Linked DNA regions of Homo sapiens: region 2 is linked to region 1. The links are contacts of gene promoters, found by promoter capture Hi-C in blood cells and fetal thymus (Javierre and others, 2016). All regions are on one chromosome and are shown on one strand. Each heading gives the region's core, a stretch centred on a gene start or on the middle of the fragment in contact. The rest is flanking DNA. Distances are from core to core; before and after follow the strand shown.

Region 1 (5,555 bases), core at 2,517-5,016:
TGAAACATTTGAACTGATGAGCCACAGAACTTCAGTTGAAATTTTTTTCACTTTTTAGCATGCTAAATATACATCTGAGTTTAAATGTTCTGTTTAATGGCCATTCATAAATTCAAGCACTACCACTGGTCAGTTTTGTGTGATAGAATAAAAATATGTTACCTGCAGTGTAAGTACAGCACACTGTCAAATTCTTTTCCTTAAGGTGCACAGTAAATGTACAGATAGTTATAGGCCACTGTTTTGTAATGTAGTACATTTCTAATCTATTATTCCTAACCTATTATAACTGTTTGCAGAAAGAAAAGAATTTTTCTAATAATCTGTAAAATTATGCTAACTTCTACAAGTAGGCTTCTAAATAAAATTTTTAAAAAGAGCAAACGGTGATCAAGTGACTTTTAATACAATATGATGACTAAATTATTGCTAATTTGTTTTAATCCCCCCTTTTGTGGGGATAGGGATAGCTGCAAAGGATGGCAAAGGGCTTGAAAGGGATTCAACAGTGAGAATCCCTGAAGTATGCTTTGCTTGGTGCCTTATATTCATTCTTCTCGAATCCTCTATGAGAACCTTAGGTGGACGTTAGCCAGATTTTATACATGAAGATGCTGAGGCTCAGAGAGGTTGAAAGTCTCCAAAAGCTGCGGAGTAAGAGTGGTAGCCGACTCTTACTTTAAGAGTAAAAGCACAAGTTTGAATCTGTATCTCCGTGGTACACTTAAATAGAACTCTAATAGCACTTCACTTCTAAATGTCAGGAATATAATCCACTGCTTGAATCTATATTGAGTAATGTAACCCCTTTGTTATGAGTAGCACCACAAAAAAACCCTACTATTAAACATATACGAAATCCATATGAAAGGGTTTTTTTTTCCCCCCTCAGATCACCTATTAGTCCATACTGAGTCAACATCAGATGAGTTCCGAGACATCATTCCTCTCTGGTTTTCCCCCACCCTCCTTTCTTCCCATTCTTGCTCTCTGCTCAGGGTCCAGTTGCTTCTGGCTGTCATTTGGTTTGGTTTTATTAATTGGGGAGAAAAAGATGGGAGGGCCTGCCGGTTCCTCCTATCTTGTTCATAGCAATAAGGATTAAGGAAAACGGCCCCTCATTGTCCAACCTCGTGAAACATCTACAAGATCATTTTCTTGCTAATACTGGCATGCTTCGACTCTAGATGATGTATGTTGTGCCATTATGCTAGTTGAATCTTCTGCATCTCACAAAATATCACTTGTGGGAATAATAAACCAGGAGAGTGGTGACCTACCACAGTAATTTGGTGGGTGCGTCAGAGGCATCTGAACCAGAGCAACTCCAGTAATTTGGTGGGTGCGTCAGAGGCATCTGAACCAGAGCAACTCCATCTTGAATAGGAGCTGGGTAAAATGAGGCTAAGATCTAGGCTGCATTCCCAGATGATTAAGGCATTCTAAGTCACAGGATGAGATAGGAGGTTGGCACAAGATACAGGTCATAAAGACCTTGCTGATAAAACAGGTTGCAGTAAAGAAGCCAGCCAAAACCCACCAAAACCAAGATGGCCACGAGAGTGACCTCTGGTTGTCCTCACTGCTATACTCCCACCAGCACCAAAGACAGTTTACAAATGCCATGGCAATGTCAGGAAGTTACCCTATATGGCCTAAAGAGGGGAGGCATAAATAATCCACTCCTTGTTTAGCATATCATCAAGAAATAACCATAAAAATCGGCAACCAGCAGCCCTTGGGGCTGCTTTGCCTATGGAGTAACCATTCTTTTATTCCTCTTTCTTAATAAACTTGCTTTCACTTTATGGACTCGTCCTGAATTCTTTCTTGCATGAGATCCAAGAACCCTCTCTTGGGGTCTGGATTGGGACCCTTTTCCTCTAACAGGTGTAATATAAATATCTGTTGAGTGCTAACTATGCCAGGCACTATGCAAAGTGTTTAGTGAACATTCTCCACCTACTCAAAACCTCTTGAGATTTTTATTTTGTATATGTTATCTCCACTGGTTTTTTTGGCGGGGATTGTTTTGTTTTGAGACAAGGTCTCGCTCTGTCGCCCAGGCTGGAGTGCAGTGGTGCAATCTTGGCTCACTGCAACCTCCCTTCCCGAGTTCAAATTATTCTCATACCTCAGCCTCCAGAGTAGCTGGGATTACAAGCATGCACCACCATGCCCAGCTAATTTTTGTATTTTTAGTAGAGACGGGATTTTGCTATGTTGGCCATGCTGGTCTTGAACTCTCGGCCTCCTGTGATCTCCCACCTCGGCCTCCCAAAGTCCTGGAATTACAGCCATGAGCCACTGCGGCAGGCCCATTGTTTTTAAAGATGAGAAAAGCAGAGATCAAAGAGGTTACTTGGTGAATGCCACAGGTAAGGAAATGACAGAGCAAATCCAGGTCTGAATCCAAAGCCCATGCTCTCAAGTGCCTGTGTTTTAGGCCAGGCAAGGTGGCTCATGCCTGTAATCCTAAAACTTTGGAAGGCCAAGTTGGGAGGATCACTTGAGGCCAGGAATTCAAGATCAGCCTGGGCAACACAGGGAGACCCTGTCTCTACTAAAAGAGAAAATAACCAGGCGTAGTGAGGCACAAAGCGACTTGAAGGCTAAGACAGGAGGATCACGAGCTCAGGAATGCGGAGCTGCAGTAAGCTATGATCTCGCCACTGCACTCCAGCCTGGGCGGCAGAGTGAAACTTCATCTCTTAAAAAACAAAAAAAATGTTATAAGAGACAGTATTTTCTGTCTTTGGGTTATATACAATAATCCTTGGCCATGTGTTTTAAAGCATACTGTTGATCACCGACGTGATTAATGGATTTAAATCTGCACAGCGGCTCATGCCTGTAATCCCAACACTCTGAAAGGCCGTGGCAGGTGGATCATTCAGGTCATGAGTTCGAGACCAGCCTGGTCAACATGGTGACATCCCCATCTCTACTAAAAATACAAATATTGGCGGGGCACAGTGGCGTATGCCTGTAATCCCAGCTACTTGAGAGGCTGAGGCACGGGAATCGCTTGAGCCCGGGAGGCGGAGGTTGCAGTCAGCCGAGATTGCGCCACTGCACTCCAGCCTGGGCGACAGAGCGGGAGTCCATCTCAAAAAATAGAGACTTCGCATCATTTCTGCTTAATATATTTGTGGTGTCTAGAGTTTTATTGTGATACCTGAGTCTAGGAAATGTGGTAAAGCCTCTGCAGCAGACATAAAGCCTGCAATTCATGGCTGTGGCCAGGCTCTCCTCACCTGTCCTGCATCTACAAATTATTTCCGTTATGGTAAGGAGAGCAACTCGTGGGGAATGTGGACAGGAACATGCGTGAATCCAAGGCAGAGGTTTTGCCCCGGAAAAAGCAGCTTCTGGCAGGGGATGAAAGCCAGCAGAGTTCCAACCGGGGTGCCCTCTCCTTCACGCAGGCCCCACTACCGTGTTGACTTAGGAAGAAAGTTTCTCGGGAGACTAAGGGATTTGGGGGCAGCGGACGCCACTGGAGGGAGATGAATTCACCTAGGGAGCCGGGGAGGGGCTTAGGGTTGCCGCTCCAGGCACAGCTGCTGGAAATCCTAGTCTGTTTTTTCTGCCTTCGCGTACAACGGGCCAGCTCACCCCACCTGGCAAAGCTGCAGGGCTTTTCCACCAGGCGGACAGAAGGGCAGCCCTCTCGCCCAACCAAGAAGCCGTGCTACCCCGGCTTCGACTCCTGGCTTCCGGGTTTTCTCCCCGCCTATTCCGTTTCCGGCCGTTCCCACCCCTGTTTTCGGTCGGCCCGGGTGTTCTGCAAGCTGGTCAAAAAGGGGAAGCGGCCCAGATATGTTAAGTTCTATGGCCGCTGCAGGGTCTGTGAAGGCGGCGTTGCAGGTGGCCGAGGTGCTGGAAGCCATCGTGAGCTGCTGCGTGGGGCCCGAGGGACGGCAAGTTTTGTGTACGAAGCCCACTGGCGAGGTGCTTCTCAGCCGGAATGGAGGCCGCCTCCTGGAGGCGCTACACTTAGAGCATCCCATAGCCAGGTACCCGCGTCCCACACGCTAACCCGTAGCCGGGCACCCCAGGCAGCCTCTGTGGAGCTCTTGTCCCATCCTGAGGCGATGCGTACTTAGAAAGACTGACCTCGGGTGAAACCGCTGTATGCTCGGAATTAGAGCCCTGCCCAAGGGAACACTCCTGCACCCCAAATCTTACCAATTCTCAAGACCACTTCTCCCCACTCCACCCAACGGTGGAATCTTGGAATAGAGCAGAGTTTTTTCCAAGAAAGGAAAAAACTAAGGATGTATCCAAGGAACAATATTCTCATTTTATGCTTATGGCTGTGTAAACATGGTTTTAAGATGTGGGAAGCCAGCCTTCTGAAAATGAGTTGCTTTATTTCTTTTTTGTACAGGATGATAGTGGACTGTGTTTCCAGTCATCTCAAAAAAACAGGAGATGGTGCAAAAACATTTATTATCTTTCTTTGCCATTTGCTTAGAGGACTTCATGCAATCACAGACAGAGAAAAGGATCCTTTGATGTGTGAAAACATTCAAACCCATGGAAGGCATTGGAAAAATTGTTCTCGGTGGAAATTTATTTCCCAGGCTCTCCTAACGTTTCAGACACAAATATTAGACGGTATTATGGACCAGTACCTAAGTAGACACTTTTTGTCTATCTTTTCGTCTGCTAAAGAGAGAACATTGTGTAGGAGCTCTTTAGAGTTGCTCTTAGAAGCATACTTTTGTGGAAGAGTGGGAAGAAATAATCATAAATTTATTTCACAGTTGATGTGTGACTACTTTTTCAAGTGTATGACTTGTAAAAGTGGGATTGGTGTATTTGAGTTAGTGGATGACCATTTTGTAGAGTTGAATGTTGGTGTCACTGGCCTTCCTGTTTCAGATTCCAGGATCATAGCTGGTCTTGTGCTTCAGAAAGATTTTTCTGTGTACCGCCCAGCAGATGGTGACATGCGAATGGTGATAGTAACAGAAACCATTCAGCCTCTTTTTTCCACTTCTGGATCAGAGTTTATTCTAAATTCAGAAGCACAGTTTCAGACATCTCAATTTTGGATTATGGAAAAGACAAAAGCAATAATGAAACATCTACATAGTCAGAATGTAAAATTGCTCATATCTAGTGTGAAACAACCAGATTTAGTTAGTTATTATGCAGGGGTGAATGGCATATCAGTGGTTGAGTGTTTATCATCAGAAGAAGTTTCTCTTATCCGGAGGATCATTGGTCTTTCTCCATTTGTACCACCACAGGCCTTTTCGCAGTGTGAAATACCTAACACTGCTTTGGTGAAATTTTGTAAACCTCTTATCCTTAGATCCAAAAGATATGTTCATCTAGGCTTGATAAGCACATGTGCATTTATACCACACTCTATAGTTCTTTGTGGACCAGTGCATGGTCTCATTGAACAACATGAGGATGCTTTACATGGAGCACTTAAAATGCTTCGGCAATTATTTAAAGACCTTGATCTAAATTACATGACACAAACCAATGACCAAAATGGCACTTCAAGTCTTTTTATTTATAAGAACAGTGGAGAA
Region 2 (6,343 bases), core at 2,251-4,750, 250 kb before region 1:
ATGGAGAAACCGTGTCTCTACTAAAAATAAAAAAAAATTAGCTGGGCGTGGTGGTGCACGCCTGCAATCCCAGCTACTAGGGAGGCTGAGGCAGGAGAATTGCTTGAACCCAGGAGGTGGAGGTTGTGGTTAGCCGAGATCGCACCATTGCACTCCAGCCTGGGCAACAAGAGCGAAACTGCACCTCAAAACAAAACAAAACAAAACAAAACAAAAGGTTACAGCAGAGGTCCCCAACCCCCAGGCTGGTACAGTTCTATGGCCTGTTGGGAACTGGGCTGCATAGCAGGAAGTGAGCAGTGGGTGAGTGAGAGAAGCTTCATCTGTATCGATAGCTGCCCCCAACCACTCGCATTATCACCTGAGTTCCACCTCCTGTCAGATCAGTGGTGGCATTAGATTCTCGCAGGAGCAGGAACCCTATTGTGAACTGTGCATGTGAGGAATCTAGGATGTACATTCCTTATAAGAATCCAGTGCCTGATGATCTGTCATTGTCTCCCATCGCCCCCAGATCAGACCATCTAGTTGCAGGAAAGCAAGCTCAGGGCTCCCACTGATTCTGCATGATGGTGAGTTGCATAATTATTTCATTAAATATTACAATGTAATAATAATAGAAATAAAGTGCACAATAAATGTAATGTGCTTGAATCATCCAAAAACCATCCCCTCAACCCCAGTCCATGGAAAAATTGTCTTCCACAAAACTAGTCCCTGGTGCCAAAAACGTTAGAGATTGCTGGATTATAGCCAAAATTTAAAATTTTCATGGTCAACATCTTCCATCATTTGAACTTTGAAGATCTAGTTAATCTTATCTCCTCTTCATTTCCCTTCATGCTGTTGGCAGATAGGTCTCCTTTGTGGAACATGATCACATCACACTTTTGCTTTTCTTCATGTCTGACAAACCTTCAGAGCTTCTCTGGTTTATATAAATCCTACCAGTCCTTAAAGCTCTATCTCATGTCTGAGACTTTCCATGAGGCTTTATCTGATAATTCTGTGAAGTAAAACAACTAGTATTTCTTTGCTATAAAAGATGTCACCCACACAACCCTAGGCATCAAGGGATTAACAGTAATGCCCTCAGCTACTGCATGAAGGAAGTTTAATTGTGTTACACAAAAAGTGTCATGGGCCTTTACTTATGTGGGATCTATGTTCAGTTCGGACTCCAACCAGAAAGACCCCTCCTACTGGAAAAACCTTCACTCTTTGTTAACAGCCCAATGGTCAGGGAACAGATGACAAAGTCCTACAGGGAGAGTGCAAAACCAGAACACTCAGGTTGGAGAGATTGCGCTGCAGAATTATCCAGCCATTCTCAGCTTCAACAAGTAAAGGTTTATGTACCTCTGTAATGGGAATGATAACAGTTTATTCATCAGGGTTTTCTTTTTACTATATAGAGTAAATACAATGAGATGTGGAAAAACATTTTGTAAAATACAAAAGGGGAGAAAGACAGGAACTTATATATATTAAGAATTCACCAAGTGCCAGGCAGTGCAATGTAAAGCCTGTAGCACAGATGTATCTTTCCTCTTGGTGAATCCCTGCTCACTGCACTGTGTTGGAGCATCAGCCAACTGCAACATTAATCTCCAGACTCTTCATCCTCTGTGTTTCCTTTAGGAAGAGTTCCACACTTTGATCTTCAGACTTGCTATTAAGGGCATTCTCTGCTGTTTGTCTAAATTTAAAGTGGTTTCAAAGGACCTTATGTAGCTTTTTGTTATTTTTTAATGACTTTAGTATAGTTATAATTCAAAACTGTTTTATTTGCTCTTTTTAAGGGGTGACTTTTTAGTTAAATAATTTTATTACTTAATATCTCTCTCAGGAAAGTCGTTGCCCCAAGAAGAGCCAGTGATCACAAGCCCTTCCTAAGACAGATCTCCTAAGCAGGCACTAAATGAATCCCTGGATACAATCATAGAGTAAAGACCAGTAGTCTGTGCTAACAGGCACCATGTCCTTTCATTCTATGAAAAGGAAAAGGGAAGGAGGCAAATAGGTACTTTATCAGTATAGAGTCAAAAGAGAAGGGCCATTCAGAACCTGGGTTCAAATGTCATTACATTGCTTCCGGTTTGACCCTGGGAAAGCTACTTAACCTCTTTGCATCTTGATTTCTCTTATAAAAATCCACATACTAATACCAAAGCTGATGTAAGGATTAGTTGATGTAAAATACGTAAAATTTAGCATAATAACTGACATACACACTCACTCAATAAGTATATATCATTTTATAAGAGCAATCTTTGTGATGTATGAACCACAGAAGAGCTATATATCCCTGCTACATTTGTCCAGAGAAAAACTCCACAGGAAATTAAAATAACAACTGCACTTTAATATATTTATATTGCAAAGAGACATATCAAGCCAGTGTAACTAAACCACAATCTTCTAATATCTGTTAGGTTCCAGTTCTTGTAAATGGTATAAAATTTACAAATAGGCCCCCGCTGAGTATAGCCACTTATATGCCTAACAGGTAGAGAACTGAACTCATCATCTTGCCTCACACCAACTGTTCCTTTTTCTGATTATCTGATTTCTATTAATAGTTCACCATTCTCCTAGTAATTCATGCTTGAAACTGTAATTATTTTTGACAAAAACTTCTTCACCACTGCCTACTGATCTTACTTGCACTCAAAATCTAACTCCATCCATCTCCATTTCTGTGCCTACCCACCTAGTTCAGGCCTCCAACCTGGTTTTCTTGCTTCAAGTTTATTTTTTCCCACCAAATTCTTCCTCCATATAAATCTTAAGCAGACTCTGATATTGAGCCTGTTTCACACCATTACTTCTGCTTCTGCTCAAATATCTCCAGTAGCTCCCTATTGCTTACCAAAATAAACTTCAAGCATTCAACATACTTTATGAGATGACGCTGCAATGCCTTTCTGGCTTTGTCTTTAATTACTCACCGTGTGCATTCTCCTTGAGCTTCCCTAAGCAATCTCCCTACTATTGTTGTTGTTTTTACCTCCATAAATCTGGTATTATTTATTATATTTTGAAAAACTTAAACTCATTTAACCTGTCCAAATAATGTCACCCTTTAAGGCCAAAAGCAAATGCTATCTCTCTGGGAAATGACATAGTAGGTCTGCAGAAAATGTTTTTTTTAAAATAAATAAATAATGTACGAATAAAAGAATAATGAATGAAATTAAGTTCTATCCTGAAGGGCCTGTTTGGTAACAAAAGATCAAGAATTAAAATAGAATCATTAAAAGATTTGTGTGAGATTTGATCAAGTAGATACAAAAAGAGGCAAAGAATCTTTACTTTGATGACAAGAATAAATGGTTAGACATGGGAAACGGAACTAGAACCGAGAATGGAATATGATGGTCATGATATCAGCAAGCAGAAAAGGCCAATGAGAGAGGCGTCAAAGCCAGGATTGGTGAAAACAGCACAGACTCTTCTCAGAGGGGCAAATTGTGTGAAAAGTGGATTGCTACCACATAGGACTCAGATTTTTCTCTTGACCATGGTTCATAAAATGTGGTCTGCAGACCCCAGGGAATTTCCCAGATCCTTTCAAGTATATACAAGATCAAAACTATTTTTACAATAATACCAAGACATTACTTGGCTTTCTCAGTGAGTTGACATTTGCACTATGAAACAAAGGCAATGGTGGGTAAAATTGTTGGTGCTTTAACAGAAATTAAGGCAGTGGTACCAAAAGTGTACTAGTAGACATTGAATTATTTACTGCTATATCCCAGAAAAGCAAGACAGTTTCATTTAATATTATTCTTGATAAAATAGCATGATTAATTTTATTAAATCTCAACCCTTGATTATGTATGTTTTAAAATTCTGTGAGACAAAATGCATAATGTATTCCTGTTGCACACCAAAGTTCTAAGGTTATCTCAAAGAAAATGATTTTTGTGCTTGAGTCGTGAGTTAAGCCACTATTTTACATGGAAAATTATCTTTACTTGAAAGAATGACAGACAGATAAACTATAGTTATTCAGACTTAGGTATGTGTCAGAACTTTTCTCAAAAATAAGTGATCCCGTCACTTCAAGGAAAACAACTCACAGCGTTTGTTGCCAATGATAACATTTGAGCTTTCAAACAAAATTTAGAATTTTTTAAAACTCATATCTACCTCTATGAATTTGGCAGCTTCTTGATTCTTCAAAAATTTTCTGATGAGATCAGTGGTGACAATAACACATGTGATTTTTTTGGGGTATTTCAACATGAAATCTGTCAGCACTTGGAAGATATGCATAACTCAATGAAGCACTATTTTCCAAATGACTAAATGCATGATGTTGCAAAATAGCGCATGGAATCTTAATCACAGAAAGTTCATCTCAATCTGTTGGTGCTAACTCCAAATGGACTGCTGCTACACAACCACCCTACTTAAGGGTATTCTTGAAGGGAAATTCTCTCAACTGCAGATCTGTAAGCAGTGTACCTGATCAACTACTTTCTATAAAGGAAGAAAAGGCCTGATGTATAGATGTACATGGACCTTTGAATGATGGCAATTGGCTTGGTTGGTTAGTCAGACAGGCCTAGAGGAGAAAGACTGGAAGATGGGAAATAAAAATATCCAAGGAATAAATGTATGGGTAGACCACTGGAGTAGGCTCAAAGTGTGCAGAAATTTGTGTGCTACCTCAATGCCTATCAGAGAGCCTATACTGCAGAGAAAGCACTAAACAACCAAGTAGACAGGACTTGTCTAGTAGAAATCATTCAGTCTCTCTTCTCAGCAATATCTGTGTTTACACAATGGGCCTATGATAATTACATGGCCATGGTGGCAGGGATAAAGGCTGTGAATGATCCAATAGCATGAACTCCCTCTCTCCTGGGCCACTGCTGCTTGTCCAGTCTATTAGCAGCAAAGATAAATGCTAAGTCTTCATTATGGCACCATCCCTTAAGAAGGCTAGTCAACCATTCAGTGGGAAATTGATTATATTGGACTCTTTCAACCCTGGAGGGGATAGCAAATTGTACTTATCAGAATTGATACCTATTATGGGTATGCATTTTTCTTCACTGTTGTAGGTACCTTTGTCAGCACCACCCACCGTACAAGAACTTACTGAATGCCTGATTTACTGGCATTGAATTCTACCTATTTTTTTATATCAAAGAGCCCATTTTATGATAAAATAGGTGTAATAATGGGGCATAAACATGAAATTGGCCATCCTAATGGAACAATAAAATAATCTAATAAAGACTTAGCCAAGGAACCCATGCAGGACTAACACTTCAAAAGGATAGGGTATTGTTCTCAAGAATAAGATAGGTGCATTAAATGTATAGCTGATGGCTGGGCACAGTGGCTCACGCCTGTAATTCTAGCACTTTGGGAGGCCAAGGCGGGCAGATCACCTGAGGTCAGGAGTTTGAGACCAGCCTGGCCAACATGGTGAAACCTTTTCTCTACTAAAAATACAAAAATTAGCTGGGTGCGGTGGCGTGTGCTTGTAATCCCAGCTACCCAGGAGGCTGAGGCAGGAGAATCGCTGGAACCCGGGAGGTGTAGGCTGCAGTGAGCTGAGATTGCACCACTGCACTCCGGCCTAAGTGACAGAGTGAGACTCCATCTCAAAAAAAAAAAAAAAAAAAAAAAAAGTATAGCTGATTTCTAGTGGTGTGTTTCCAATAGCCAGAATATACAGGTCCAGAAACCAAAGGGTGGTTGTAGGAATGGCTCTCACCAACACTCCCATTGACCCCTTTGCAGAATTTGGGCTTCCTATCTGTGCATTCTTAGGCTTTTCAGGATTAGAAGCACTTGTTTGGTATGAAGGGGACTTCTATGAGGGCACACATGAAGTCTCCATTGAACTGGAAACTATAACTATCACATGATCATTTTAGATCACTTGTGTCAGTGGACCATCAATGAAAACACTTACTATCTTGGTGGTGATAACTGACCTTGATTACCCATATGAAATAGAGTTGCTGCTACCCAATGGAGACAGGAAGTCCGATGCATGGAACACATAGGATTCACTGAGTTATTTCTTCGTGCTCCATGTCTGGTGATAAGTATAAATGGGTAATTGTAATAATTAAGACTCACTGAAGAGCAAGAATTAGAGTTCAGACCCTTCAGAGATGATGATCTGGTTGCCCCCACCCAGTCAAGCAACACAGACTCCCTGAAATGGTAGCCAGGATGAGACAAACTAGAATAATCTTTTTCACATCCTTTCAGCCTACCTTTTATACCAACTATTGCTATGGCAACCAGTTTTGTGCAACTGTACCACATATTTATCATTTCAAAACCTGTGCTGCTCTGATGATATGGC

The links. Contacts are between HindIII fragments. The CHiCAGO score rates a contact against its expected background, and 5 or more counts as called.
Region 2: a contact is called between a fragment that was not itself captured here and the fragment with the promoter of BBS10 in region 1, in 1 of 17 cell types (neutrophils). The highest score is 5.4, in neutrophils.

What each region holds. Positions count from the first base shown.
Region 1 is chr12:76,346,626-76,352,180 of GRCh38, reverse strand. It overlaps BBS10 (Bardet-Biedl syndrome 10), which reads left to right and starts at 3,766. Exons shown (of 2, transcript NM_024685.4): 1 at 3,766-4,019; 2 at 4,394-5,555. The coding sequence starts at 3,823. It overlaps OSBPL8 (oxysterol binding protein like 8), which reads left to right. Exons shown (of 24, transcript NM_020841.5): 24 at 1-384. RefSeq lists enhancers at 3,365-3,414, 2,561-3,510, 3,511-4,460. The HindIII fragment of the contact is 11,737 bases long and covers 1-5,555 here.
Region 2 is chr12:76,593,183-76,599,525 of GRCh38, reverse strand. The region is part of intron 3 of LOC105369850 (a long non-coding RNA gene); the gene reads right to left. Among named protein-coding and RNA genes, the nearest start is that of OSBPL8, 37 kb to the right of the region's middle. The HindIII fragment of the contact is 6,362 bases long and covers 320-6,343 here.